Regions from separate parts of the Homo sapiens genome. Here all the other regions are linked to region 2. The links are contacts of gene promoters, found by promoter capture Hi-C in blood cells and fetal thymus (Javierre and others, 2016). All regions are on one chromosome and are shown on one strand. Each heading gives the region's core, a stretch centred on a gene start or on the middle of the fragment in contact. The rest is flanking DNA. Distances are from core to core; before and after follow the strand shown. Region 1 overlaps VPS41 (VPS41 subunit of HOPS complex). Region 2 holds the start of POU6F2-AS1 (POU6F2 antisense RNA 1). Region 3 overlaps VPS41 (VPS41 subunit of HOPS complex).

What was found. The method cuts DNA at HindIII sites, captures the fragments that hold promoters and counts their contacts. A CHiCAGO score of 5 or more calls a contact.
Region 1: a contact is called between a fragment that was not itself captured here and the fragment with the promoter of POU6F2-AS1 in region 2, in 1 of 17 cell types (naive B cells). The highest score is 5.8, in naive B cells.
Region 3: a contact is called between a fragment that was not itself captured here and the fragment with the promoter of POU6F2-AS1 in region 2, in 1 of 17 cell types (megakaryocytes). The highest score is 5.7, in megakaryocytes.

What each region holds. Positions count from the first base shown.
Region 1 is chr7:38,790,117-38,794,929 of GRCh38, reverse strand. All of the region lies in intron 9 of VPS41 (VPS41 subunit of HOPS complex), which reads left to right. Among named protein-coding and RNA genes, the nearest start is that of VPS41, 120 kb to the left of the region's middle. The HindIII fragment of the contact is 7,889 bases long and covers 1-4,813 here.
Region 2 is chr7:39,405,076-39,409,575 of GRCh38, reverse strand. POU6F2-AS1 (POU6F2 antisense RNA 1) reads left to right here and starts at 3,230. Exons shown (of 4, transcript NR_046711.1): 1 at 3,230-3,242; 2 at 3,457-3,559. It overlaps POU6F2 (POU class 6 homeobox 2), which reads right to left. Exons shown (of 10, transcript NM_001370959.1): 6 at 2,836-2,976. The HindIII fragment of the contact is 9,360 bases long and covers 1-4,500 here.
Region 3 is chr7:38,808,550-38,813,195 of GRCh38, reverse strand. The region is part of intron 7 of VPS41 (VPS41 subunit of HOPS complex); the gene reads left to right. Among named protein-coding and RNA genes, the nearest start is that of VPS41, 98 kb to the left of the region's middle. The HindIII fragment of the contact is 255 bases long and covers 3,053-3,307 here.

The DNA.
Region 1 (4,813 bases), core at 244-2,743, 610 kb after region 2:
TAAATGAAATTTAGCTGTTCTGTGAAAGGGGGCCCAAAGCTCATTCACATTTATTTTATGCCTACTAGTGCTTCTGTTATATTAGATACTTCAGAGCCAAAAGTTGTTTCCCTTTAAAAAATAGACAGCTTAATTCGAACAAAATAAACTAAAAATTAGTGGAAGTATAAAAATGGCATGAGAGAGTATCCCAGCAGTAGTCTCATGGAAGAGCTCAGGCTTTGAGGCCAGACAGACCTGGGATCAAGTCCAGCTTCTCCATTTTCCTTTGGGATCCTCTGTGAGCCTTACTGTCCTCATCTGCAAAGTGGTAGTGCTAATTGTTCTCACATCACAAGTTTTGGGGAGAAATAAATGAGCCAATGCATGTAAAGAGTTTTGCATAGAATCTGATGTAATTGCTTAATAAATGTTAGCTGTCATTATTATATAAAGTTCTAGCAATGTCATGAAGGGGACGTGGCTATTTAAAATGTACTCTTCTCTGGAAAGGGAAAGTGGAAAATTATTAATGTAATGATTGTTATTAGCAAAACAAACATTGTTACACTTCAGGCCCTCCCAGCCCTCATGTTGTTATCATTCAGGTTCTTTTTTCTTCATGTGTTACATGAACACAACCTGATTTATATTTAGGGTAACAGGAAGGAAACTGTGCCTATATCGTAGGATGGAAAAAGGGATTCCCTGGGCTCCCTGTCCCACGTGTGTGGTTACTCATCCAATAAATTTATATTCTTAGTATTTTAAAAATCCCTTAAATGGACCAGGTTGCTTGTTAGTTTTAAAGTTCTGATTTTCTTTTCTTATGGTGAAAGACAAGGAAAATTAGCCTGTAGAAATATGTAACAAGTTTACTCATTACTCCCAGAAATTCTTTCTCTGGTATGCTGAATAATGGCCCCAAGGATAGCAAGCCCTAATTCCTAGAACCTATAAATGTTTCTTTATATGACAAAAAGGTAAATATTACTTTATTTAGCAAAAGATATGATTAAGTTAAGGATCTTGAGATGGGGAATTAACCTACATTATCTGGGTGGGCCCTAAATGCAATCACGTTTATCTTTATGAGAGGGAGGCAGAGGGAGATGCTAACATGGAAGAGAGGAGGAGAAGGCAGTACCACTGTGGAGGCAGAAATTGGAGTGAGGTGGTCAGTGAATGGTGGCAGCCACCAGAAAGCTGGAGGAGACAGCAGATTGTCCCCTAGAGCCTCCAGAGGAAGTACAGCCTTGCCAACACCTTGATTTTAGCCCAGTGAACCCAATTTCAGACTTGTAGCCTGCGGAACTGTAACAGATGTTTAAAACAACATCTCTGTTGTTTTAAACCACCAAGTGTGGCAGTCTGTTATAGCAGCCATGGGAAACATATACCCTTTCTTTATGCCCAAGTTAAGATCCAGCTTCTATACAATTTTTATGTCAAATATTTCATTTTATTGGAGGTTCCTTTTCTTCAAACTCAGTTCTATATGTTGAGCACTTCTCAGTGTAGACTCTTAGTGAGTTCTGTTGAAGGAAGAGGAGATAAGGACGTGGTCTTTCTTCAGAGGGACAGCAATCTTGTTGGGGAGAAGCAACCAGAAACAGTAAAATAAAGTGTGCAATTGGACCTTACCATTTACTTCATTCATTCATTTGCCCAACAAACGTTTACCAGGTGCCTGCAGTGTGCCAGGCAGTGTTCTAGTGTTGCAGAACACAAATATACAAATGAATGAGTTCCTTCCCTTGGGAAATTTATGTTCTAGTGAGGAAGGTGGACAAAAACAAGTAAGTATAGCATGTTGAAGGTGGCAAATAAAAAGGAGAACATTTTAACAGGATAATAGGAAAAGGGATTGGGGTAGGTACCATTTAATATAGGGTGGTCCAGGGATGGCCTGTCCAATAACTAATATGTTGTTTGGTCAGAGATCTGGAGAGAAAAGTTATACAGCTCTATGGGGGCCTGGGGTAGGAGGTGTTAGCAGAAGGAGCAGGAGTGCAAAAATTCTTGAAGCAGGAGTGTGATTGGTGTGCTTTTGAGGAACAGCAAGGAAGCTGTTTGTGTCAGAGTGAGTGGAGCAGATGTGGAGGAGAGGGATGTAAGTGGGGGTCGGGGAGGGTGTGGTGGAGGAGCAGGTGATGTTGGAGCCCAGGGGCCCTTGAGAAGTCTTTGGCTTTTAATTTGACTGAGGTAGGAAGCCAGCACAGGGCTTTGAGCTGTTGTGGAGTCAGTTAAGTGATCTAACTTGTATTTTGGAAGGATCTCTGGTTGCTGTGTGGAGCTAAACGGCAAAGGGGCAGTCAAGAGGGGAGACCAATTAGGCTACCGCAGTCATCTCCATAAAAAATAATGTTGTCTCAGGTCAGTGTAATGCAGCTGGTGAGAAATGACCAGATCCTGGATATATTTTGATGGTAGACTCTGCAGTATTTGTTGACAGTTGGATGTGGGGTGTAAGATCACAGTCACCTAACATACTGGAAGGTGAAACTACCTTTTGCTGAAATGGGAAAGACTGTTGATAAAGCATGTTTAGAGTGAAAAAGGCAAGAGTTGGTTTTAGGTGTGTCTACTTGAGAGATGCCTGTTATCCACCCATGTGGAGAAGTGGAGGAAGCAGATTAGAGTTCATGGGCAAGAACCCACCTATCAGTGGTAAAGGGCTCTTACAGTCATTGATTTGTGCTTATGCAAGACATGAGCTTAAGGTAGCACTTACCTATTCACCCACCTTTACCTGCCACTTCCTACCTATGAGACAGGTGCTGGGTGAGCCCAGACCACAGAGCTGAGGAGTGCAGTAGAGCCATGCCCAGCTACCAGTAGTGCAATGCATCCTTGTTCTCAAGCTGTGGCATGACCAGCGAGATACCAGTCAGGCCTTGGTGTGAATTCCAGCTCTGGCCAGGCAGTCTGGCATCACTCACAGAGCCTCAGTGTCCTCATCTCTGGATTAAACATAATAACATTGTCTTTCAGGGGTGTCTGAGTGTTGGAAGACTGTCAGCCCTCAAGTTCTGTCAATGTCTCTCAAATCTCTGCACTTCATCTTCCTGTCAAGTCTTTTTGGTGCTGGTTTTACCCCCCCTAAACCTATCCTAAACAGTATAGCTAGAATAATCTAAGTGCAGGTCAGATGAGGTCAGTCCCCTCCTTGCCCATAGGATAACTGATCATAAACATGACTTCCAAGGTTCTTTGTGATCTGCCTCTCCGTTACTCTCCAGCCTCAACTCTGTCCCCTTCTTCCCCCATGCCCTTCATTTCTGTCCGATTGAGCTTCCAGTTGAAGGCCCTATGCTGTCATATCACCGTGTTCTCCTGTGTTGTCTCTCCTGCTTCAACTTACATGTCACTTCTTCCAGGAAGTCTTCCTGCCCTAGCAGGAGATGCCCCTGCTCTGTACTTCCCTGTCACACTTCAGTAAAGTGCCTTATTTTTGTGTCTCCCCCACTGCACCATAATCTTAAGAAAATAATGATATCTATTTCACAAAGGCCTTAACTCAGGAGCACTGCCAGTAACTGCCCAAAAAAGTGTTCACTAATATTGCCGATACATTTGCTTTTTTATTATACTTCAAACCATTTGAAAGACTGTTCCTCATGTACTTATATCAGCACATTAAAACAGTTGTCCATTTGGCATTGTGGAATGTGCCATTAGATGATTTAGTAGTTTCCCTAGTAAGTGTGGGAAGAAGAGTGGATAACTTATAAGCTCAAAAGTCTACCAGAAGGGAAGAAAATTGGAGAAGTGGACAGGCAGTTATATGAAACGGACAAGAGACAAATGGCAAAAAGCAATCAAGGAAGAAGACAGCCGGTCACTTCTATGTGGAGGCTTCTACCTCTGCAGCCATGGGTTCAAGCCCCGCCTGAGGGAAAGTGGGCACTCTGCATTCACTGAGTCGCTGCAGTGTTGCTGGGCAGCAACTCAGTATACTACGTATATTAAAAAACAAAACCTTACAAAAGTTTATGTACCCATTGGTATCAATTCTACTTCTAGGAATTTATCCTAAGTAAACAAAAGTCCTAAAGTTTTATATATAAGTATGTTGATTGCACTATTGCTTACAATAGATATAAAAACAAAAAAATATGCCCCCAAAGGGGGTTGATTAAGTATAGTACATTCATGTAATAAAAGGCAATCATCCCTCAGTGCCTGTGGGGAATTGGTTCCAGGACCCCTGTGGATCCTGGGCTCCTCTGATGCTTATATAAATGATGTAACATTTGCATATATAAAATGATGCGGTATTTGCATATAACCTATGCACATCCTCCTGTATACTTTAAATCATCTGTAGATTACTTATAACACCTGATACAATGCCTACACATCACTGCATTTGCATAGACTTAATGAAGTAGTTGGTGTACAGCAAGGTCAAGTTTTGCTTTTTGGAATTTTGTAGAATTTTTTTTTTTCCTGAATATTTCTGATCCTTGTTTGGTTAAATCCATGAATGTAGAATTCATGGATGCAAAACCCATGGATATGGAGGGCTCACTGTATTATAACAACTTTACAGAATTATGTTGTAGAAGAATCTTTAAATAACATATTGAATTACTTGTATTAAATTGTTAGGTTAATAAAAGTAGCTTTCATAAAAAAGATTATTAATGGTGTTCTCTTTGTGCTGGAACAATGACTAATGCTTGTTTTCCCCTTTGAGTTTTTCTATATTTTAGAATTTTCCATACCATAGTTACAGTTAATGGTAGCAGCTATAAAAGAACACTATGTAAAAGAAAAAGGAAAAATCCCTGATCACTGACAGAAGTTGTACTTGGATTAGTACTTGACT
Region 2 (4,500 bases), core at 1,981-4,480:
TGGGTTCCATTTGAACATTAAGAATGAAACTATGGCTTAGGTAGGTTAAGTCATGGCTCCAAGATCATAAAACTAGAAAGAGGTGGGGCCTAAACTCAATCCCAGGTAGGTCTGAATTCAAAGTCTTAACTAATGAATCTTGCTTTTTGTTTCCGGGTAGCCAAAAGAATCTAGAGGAAGGGGAGGATCAGAACATTTCTGATAAGAGAACCCCCATCTCACCCCACCCTTCTCAACAGACCTAACCTCACCAAACTATCAGTAGAGTAAAACATGCTTTCCACACTTAGGTTTAGGTTTTAACGTGATTACTCTTGGGTGAACTTCCAAATGTAAACAATAGTTGATGTCAAGAACTCAAGTGAAAGAATCTTTAAACATATTCAGAGTTTTCTCTTTGTACCTTTTCTGGGAAAGTGCTATGCAGATTTTTAAGAAATTGAAAATGGGCTGGGTGGAGTAATCCTACTTTACATGGTATTTTGAGAAAGGCTAATTGTAAGAATCTGGTTCCAATGTATTGCTACCTTTTGTGCCACATTAACATAAGCCAAAGGAATATGCACACACACAAACAAAAAACACAAAATTTTTGCCTATCTCTTTTGGTGTAATTTGACCACAGGCTGTTCACCTCACTTCATAGGGTCACACAAGTATCTCTGTGCCAACAGTTGTAGGACATGCACCATTTCCTGGGAAGATAACCGGGTTTATATTCTGAACATCAAAAAAACAAAAAACAAACAAACAAAACCAACCATATCACTACATGAATATGGCCAATTATCCACTGGAAGTTTGAGTATTTTAACTCTTGAACTGTTTCTGCACTAGGTGGAAGACATGACCCCATTGGGCACATGTGTTAAAACTTAAGATTTCATGAGTAGGCATTATTGATTTCTCTGTGAATGTAATTTTTTTTCCACTTTAAGAGGTTTGTATGCCACATCAAATAAACGATCATACCACAGTTTCTAAAATAAGATATTTTAAAGTCAACTCTTATTCAATGTATGCACAGTACCAATCAATCTTCTACTTGGAAGATCATTTTCTAATGGGTACTTATGGGCTGGGAAAGCTATCCCTGGGGTTTGGCAAAGGCCAAAAAAAGCAAGTGTAGTAACTCTAGCTCCTGAGAATATCTAATTGGCAAAGTAATCAGCCCTTAAATCATCAGAAGAATAAACTCCTAATAATTCCTTCTAAATAATAATGGATTTTCTGCATCACAAGTATTCAAGTGATGGAGCATATCAGTGTATTTTACTTAGATGTAGGAACAAAAAAATCAGAAGGAAATATCTGTCGGTGGATATGGTTTCTATCTTGAACTCCTAAAATTTACATCTCAAGGGCCAGCTCCCTGGCAGGAGTGAGGCAGGGTGTCCTATTTCTGGGCACAGCTCTACGAAGCAGCGACCTGATGTGAGTATGAGTTACAGACATTAAAACCAACTTTTCCTCTACACCAATACCCCGTCCCTCCAGAAATCTTAATAGGCTTTTGAGAGCCTCCATTTAGAGCCGGCTGCATAAAATGATCCTTTGATGAAAAGGGATTGGAACAAGGGTTAAAGCAGACATTGAAAGGTTACTGTAGAGGGCACAGTGTTCATACAACCCTCCTTTAATATGTGCGGTGTGCACCTGTGATAAGATGATTCATTACATGGGGCCTCTCTTTGACAAGCTCCATCGTTCAGCCCTCGGGGTTCTGACGGGACAATACCACACCCGCCCAGGAAATAAAACAAGGTCAGCTTTTTTTCCCTGGAATGTAGACAGAGACGATTTAGCTTATAATGCATCTTTGTTTACTCTTTATGTAAAATAAAAACAGGGTTCAAGACATCAAAATGCCTGCTCTCCACAGAACAGGCCAAGCAGGGAGTATGCAAACACACTGCTGGGCAAATAGATAAGGCTGGGGGGAAAAGTCTTTGTGAGAATGCTAGCTCCTTCTCCCTTGGATTTCATGATCAGTCACACTGGAGAACCAAGTGTCCTAACCACTGGGCTCTGAGACAGGCCTTCAGATGGAGGGTACCCCGACATCATCAGCTTCATCTCGTTTGCTTTTTATGCAGCTTTTGGGTTTATTGGGTTGTCTGAAGCTCTTCCAGGATCTAGTATGAACATTATGTGGCACATTAGCAGCGTTGAGGGGACAGACCCTCTCTCATGACATGAGGAAAGTTTACTACCCCTGACATACTGAAGTAAATCAACAAGCATGCCAGAGGTTGCCTGGCTTCCGTAGGAATTGGCAGGAGGCCAGGGACCATGGGGCTGACTTGCAATTGGCTTCATTCTAACTCACCCCTTTTCTTTGTTGCTTTTACAAGACTTCTTCATCACCTTCCCATACATTCAAAAATTGGCTTTGTTAAGACTAATTTTGATATCTCTCTCACAGCAATTATGGAAGGAAACTGATCAGTTTCCCTCATTATCCAAGTTTTTCCTTAAGTGAAAAGTAAAAAAAAGCAAAACTGACATTTTATTTTTAAGATGTAACTTTTTTCTTTTTGAAAGAATGCCCCCTGTAATGCAAAGTAACTTCTTCATATAAGGTCATAACATGAGTCATAGTACAGAGATAAAAACAAAATAAAACTTTGGCAATCTAGAGGTAGGAAAAAAATCTTGCTTCTAAAACATAGAAACACCTCCCAACCCTTCTCCTATTCTTGACATTGCTAGTAAACATTATTTATTTGCCTCGAATAGATGCGGTTACATATCACTGTCATGCAAAAGAAATTCAATTCCTTTCCGAGTTCAATCTGCCATAAAAATGCACTCTTGTTCCCATCTCCCACTCACCTGTCCTTGTGCATTAGTAACTAGTTGACCTGTGACCCCCTGAAGACTGGAGAGGGCATTGCCAAAGGCCTGTGAGCTTGCTATGGAGCTCATGGCTGCTGCAGCCGCTGCAGCCTGACTTGCTAGTGGATTATTAACCAGCTGCAAAGAGAGAAAAGATCACCGTGAAAACCACCGAGAGGCACAGGCACAGCACACGGACACAACATTGACTCTGGGGAGGTAGTTCTCGCCTCAATTCGCTCATGCAAAGGGCCTGGAACCCACCGGAGGGGCGTGGCGAACATTCCCCCGGAAGCTCTGGGGTAGGGGGATGATGGAAACGAGGCTGGAAGGAAAATGTTGGGGAGCTTGGTGGAGTCTGGGTTTAGGGCTAGCCCAGGAGGGAACGAGCCTGAACTTCAGGGGTGAGGTGGGCTGTTAGGACCTTCTGGGGTGGAGAAATGATTTCGCAGAAGCCCTCTAGACTAAATAAAACTCAGGAAATATCTGCTTTCCCTGAGGTAACCAGACAGAATAGGAGAGTAAACAGGATGGGGATCGGGGAAAGAGAGGAATAGATTTTTAGGATTTCTAAGAATGAATTTATCATTTCCATTTGTGAATTGCAGTTTCTTTCAGGGACATCGAGCGAGGCAGGTGTTCCACCCCACTTTCTTGTTTGAGGGGAGAAGGAAACCAAAGCCAGTAGAAATGGAATTTATGGCCTCCGTGCTCTCAGAGGGTGAGTCTAGGGCTGCGACAATTTTGGGGCTTTAACCTAAACCACAGGATTCAATGCCAATGAGAAAGGTTGTTCGATGAATGGTCAGATTGACAACTGCTTGCTGTTGTAGCTGATACATGGTCTTTCCTCAGCCTCTTTCCTGGGACAAGAGTGAAACAGGGAGGAAGAAAGAGAGAGTGGGAGAGAGACCTGCCGGGGAGGAGGTTATGGCTGCCAAAATCTGTTTTTCCATGGAGACCAATTCAATATTCTCCTTCCTGCCAATTTTCCACGCCACAGGTTTTCAGGCCTTCTGACCATGAGGCAGAAGTGTGGCTTCAACTAAAATCTGCATTTAGGTTAATGACTAGATATAAATTCAAGAAACATTTAAACTATTTTCACAGTATTGGTTTTGATACATGAATTTCATTTGTATTTATTCTAGGGTGTTATTTTTTTCCCCATATAGTTTCTCTCAAGTACAACAATTGTTGTGTTGGAAATAATGCATTTTCCATCACCAGTTCCCACATCCATGAAATTCCTGCATTTTTTCAGAAACCTGCCACGACTAAGACTAGGTGGAAAAAAATTAATGCCATACCTAATTCAAGTCTTGGAAGCTCTTCTAAAAATGCCACTTTTAAAACTTTCCTTTCTTCATTTTTTGTCTCAGTCTCTCTTCTCTCTCTCTCTTTTCCTTCTTCCCTTCAAATCATATTTTATTTCTTAATTTCTTTGGAAATTTGCCTAGAGATTATACTATCTTATGAAGAAGGAAATATTAATTATCAGAGAAAACATCAAAAAGGACAGGAATTTAATAACTATTTTTTCATTAATGTGGTATCTTTATCTTATCGGTTTCTTTATTCATTTATAACTAAATTTCACACAACTGTTCTTCAGTAATTCTGCTGACCCAGCACATTTTTTAAAAAAAATGAGAATCCATT
Region 3 (4,646 bases), core at 1,931-4,430, 600 kb after region 2:
CTTTTTATGTCCAGATGATATTTCATTGTATAGATCTATCATGTTTTATTCATCCGTTTGTCGCTTGATTGACATTTGGATTGTTTCTACTTTTTGGCTATTATGAATAATGCTGCTATGAACATTTTTGTACAGCTTTTTGTGGCTGTGTGTTTTCATTTCTCTTGAGTATGGAATTGTTGAATCATATAGTAACTCTATGTTGGACATTTTGAAGAATTGCCAAACCGTTTCCCAAAGTGATTGTTCCATTTTACATTCTCATCAGAAATATATGAGGGTTTTAATTGTCTACATTCTCACCAATATTCATTTTATTTTCTCTTTTTGATTATAATCACTCTGGTATGTGTTAAGTGATATCTCATTGTGGTTTTGACTTTCTTCTAATGACTGATGATGTTGACCATGTTTTCCTGTGCTTATTGGCCATTTGCATATCTTCTTTGGAGAAATGTTTATTCAGATTCTTCGCCTATTTTTTAATTGGGTTTTTTTAATTATAGAGTTATAAACTTCAAAAATAAATTCTGGGTAGATATTCCTTATCAGATACATGATTCGCAAATATTTTTTCCCAGCCTATGAGTTGTCTTTTCACTTTATTGATGGTATCCTTTGAGGCACAGAAGTTTGTAACTTTAATAAAGTCACATTTATCTTAATTTTTTTGATACTTGTGCTATTGGTGTTGTATCTAAGAGATCACTGCCTGTTGCCTCTTCCAAGGTCATGAAGATTAATGCTTGTTTCTTTTAAGACTTTTGTATTTTTTACTCTTAAATTAGGTGTACAATATATTTTGAGTTCATTATGTATGATGTAAGACAGGAGTCCAAATTTATTCTTTTGCATGTGAATATCCAGTTGGCCCAGCATCACTGTTGCAAAGACTATTCTTTTCCCATTGTGTGGGCCCTTTGTGGAAAATTGGTTAACCATAAATGTTAGGGTTTATTTCTGGATTCTGAATTCTACCAATCTATATAGCTATCTTTATGCCAGTACCCCTTTTAGGTTTCAAAGCCACTAATTTTTCTGTAATTAGTTATGGGATGGCAGATGAACTACAAATGCTCCTCAATTTACAGTTGAGGTTGTCCTGATAAGCCTATTGTAAGTTAAAAATATTGTTAAGTCAAAAATGCATTTGATATACTTAACCTACTGAACATCACATCTTAGCCTAGCCTACCTTAATTGTAGTCAGAACACTACAGTTAGGCAAAATCATTTAACACAAAGCCTATTTTATAATAAAGCATTGAATATATAATGTAATTTATTGAAGACTGAAAGTGAAAAATTTAATCATTGTATAGGTACCATCATAAAGTTGAAAAATCATTAAGTCAAATAATCATAAGTCAAAGACTGTCTACTCTTAAAACTTTGGTTTGGGGTTCTTTCCCTTTAAAAAGCCATTATATATCATCATTCTTTAAGGAAAACCTGTTTTTATTCCCAGTACAATCAAAGCACCCTAGGGTAATACAAGCAAATTATTTCCACTTACTACAGAAGATATATATATATATGAATGAGATATATCTATCTATCTGTATATATGGAGGGGTGTGTGTGTGTGTGTGTGTGTGTATGACAAAACAAGTCTTTTAAAAGTGTGATAATAGTTTGTGATTTAGAATAATTTATTTAAAAAAGCCATTATAATTTATTTTACTTATGTTAAAGGCTTTAGAAACATGTAACTGTGTCCGCAATTTAATGACTTGTAACATACAAACTTTGATTTATTTGGATCCATTAAATTTTATCATGTAAATATGTATTTACTAAGTACTAAAAAGTACCATTTTCTTGATAAACTATAATGATCTGTTTGCATATGGTTAAATGGAGATTTTCAAAATGTGTATCAGCTTGGTGTGGTTTGCAGAAATCTCCAGAGAATTTCCTTTTTCTACATGTTGTGTGGTATGTACTTGTAAAGATTATTTATGCTTCATGTTTTTGACATTAGCGTGTTTTGTTTGTTTTGAAATAGATTTATTTAGTTGAGGTATTTTAGGATGTATTTTTCTAATTTCATTAAGAAATATATCTGATGTTAAAAACTAAAGGCATTTAGAAGGTTACATTAAGAAAGGAGGACTTGTGAAATGATCACTTTCATTTTGAAAGTGTTCGCAAATTTTTAGGAGGAGCTGCTCTTTTTGTAACTGAGTTATAGAGGTTTATATCTTTGAAAAATGAGATAACTACATTGGCTCAGTAGCTACTTCAATCCTTTCAGCTGCAATTTTAAACTAGCAGCAGAAACTAGGCAGAACAATTTTGAAAAGCCCAACATTTAGCAAATGGTTATAACCTTGCAATAATCATGTTATAGATATCAAGATCCCTCCTCTGTTGAGAACAGGTGGCAGATCACATAGGGGGAAAAGAGAATAAAGACATATGTCAGATAACTGAGAGGTTATGACTTTCTGCCTTTAAGAAATAATTTAATCTTCAAAAAATTGGAGCAAAGACTAGCCAAATGAAGGTGTAATGTGGAATAAAGACATTCTTAACCCTTAAGAACAGTGATCTCTAGACTGACAGCCAAATAAATCGTTGGAATTATATGCCACCTTCTACAAACAATGGGTTAAAGTGGCACAGAGACTAGAGGAACTAAGTAGAAAAATAGAGGACCACTATGAGATATTCGTGAAGTCATAAGAAAATTTGAGAGAGATGTCTATTAATATTTAATAGTTCTTTAATCTTATTACAATTTTTGATTCCTATAAAAATTATTAAAGTAATTAGAACATACTTTTCAAAGTATGCAACATACATTGCAGAACATAGCAATGTAACAGAAGAAACCCTGAAACTGTAGTTTGACAGCTATTTCCTTTTCAAAGTTCTGGCTTCTTAGGTGTTCAGAGATAGCTCTTTATCCACCAGGGACTAGGACTAGGAGGCTATAGTTCTGTCTGGCATAAACTTTTATTTTAGGTTTTCAAGGTATCTTCTTAGTAGTTGAATGCCATAGCTGGATTTATGGACTCCAGTGCTTGACACATGAGCATAAAAAGCTTATTCCATATTCTGTTTTGTTTCCATCTTGAAAAAAAAAAAAGAGAAAGCACATCTCTTAAAAGTGCCATTGGAGAGAGCTTTCAAACACGTGAACCAATGAATTTTTTTTGTAAGTGTAACCTTCTTTTGTAGCAAGAATTTTAATACAGGAGCATGGCAAATGAAGTTTCTATTTTAGAAATAAATCTGTCAAGTGAATGTTGTCTGGATTTTTTTTTTTAATTGTCCAGCTTTCCCTGTCAGCAGGTAAGCTTTAGCTTCATAGGACCTTTACTTTTGAACACTGAAATACACTTTATAATAACTGGTTCTACTACTTTGACAAATCATTAAATTGTCGCGATGCTGTTTGCAGTGGAGTTCATTTTTAGAAATCAGATAGTCAGCTGTTTGGCGTTACGGTGGGATAGAATGAGGGGACCTGGCCGCAGGGGCAAGTTGCTTTGTAAGCTGGAAAATGTCAGTCAGCAAACAAGGAAAGGACTGGAGTGAATGAAATGAGGAAAATTTGAAATGGCAAATTTTACCTGAAGGACAGAGATGGTAGTGTCAGCCAGCTTCTATAAGCTTCCAGCAGTGGTCTGCAAATAATAAATTGGATTTTGAATCCTTTTTGAGGGAGGATTCAATATGGGAAGCTTTTTATAAAACTGTAAATATTTAAAAAATTATTATTAAGATTGTTTTTAAATTTTATTTCTTTTGCCCATGTTATCAACATTTTTATTTTTTTCTAGCTTTATTGAGGTATAATTGACAAATTAAAATTTTATATTATATATATATATAAAATATACATATATATATATTTTTGTATTTTTAGTAGAGACGGGGTTTCACTATGTTGGCCAGGCTGGTCTCAAACTCCTGACCTCGTGATCCGCCTGCCTCGGCCTCCCAAAGTGCTAGGATTACAGGCGTCAGCCACCATGCCCAGCCAAATTATACATATTTAAGTTATACAATGATGATTTGATATATACCAAATGTATTTAGTATTTATTGTGAAGTGATTGCCACGTTCAAGCTAATTAACATTATCAGTTGCCTCACATAGTTACCATTTCTTTGGGGATGAGAATACTTAAAATCCATTGGTAAATTTTAAGTATTTAATATGGCATTATTAAATATAGTAACCATAGCGTACATTAGATCCCCGAATTTATTCATCTTAGAACTGAAAGTCTGTGCCCTTTTGGCCAGCATCTGCCAATAGCTCCCAGTCCCCTGGCTACAAATCTTTTTAGAATCTAGATAATCCGGTGAGCCTTTTCTTACCACTGCCATCCCTAAACATGAAGTGTAGGAGTGCTTCCTCGTGTGTTTGTTCATCTTTGGGTCAGATTGGAGCTGGGGTTTTGGTGGCTAGAAGGGTTTTGACATTAGCAGTTCCTCTCTGTCTCCTGTCCAGTGTTTGGATCTCTAGGATAGTATTTCCGCAAGTTTTCAGATGCTTGATTGTAGCCTTCTACCTGAAACTTCTTCCCACATTACTTACCATTGTAGTTTTCAAGTGAATCGTCTGAACATTTTTAAGAATTAAAATTAAGGCTCCCTAGTTAATTCACAGTTACACCACAGGCAGCCAC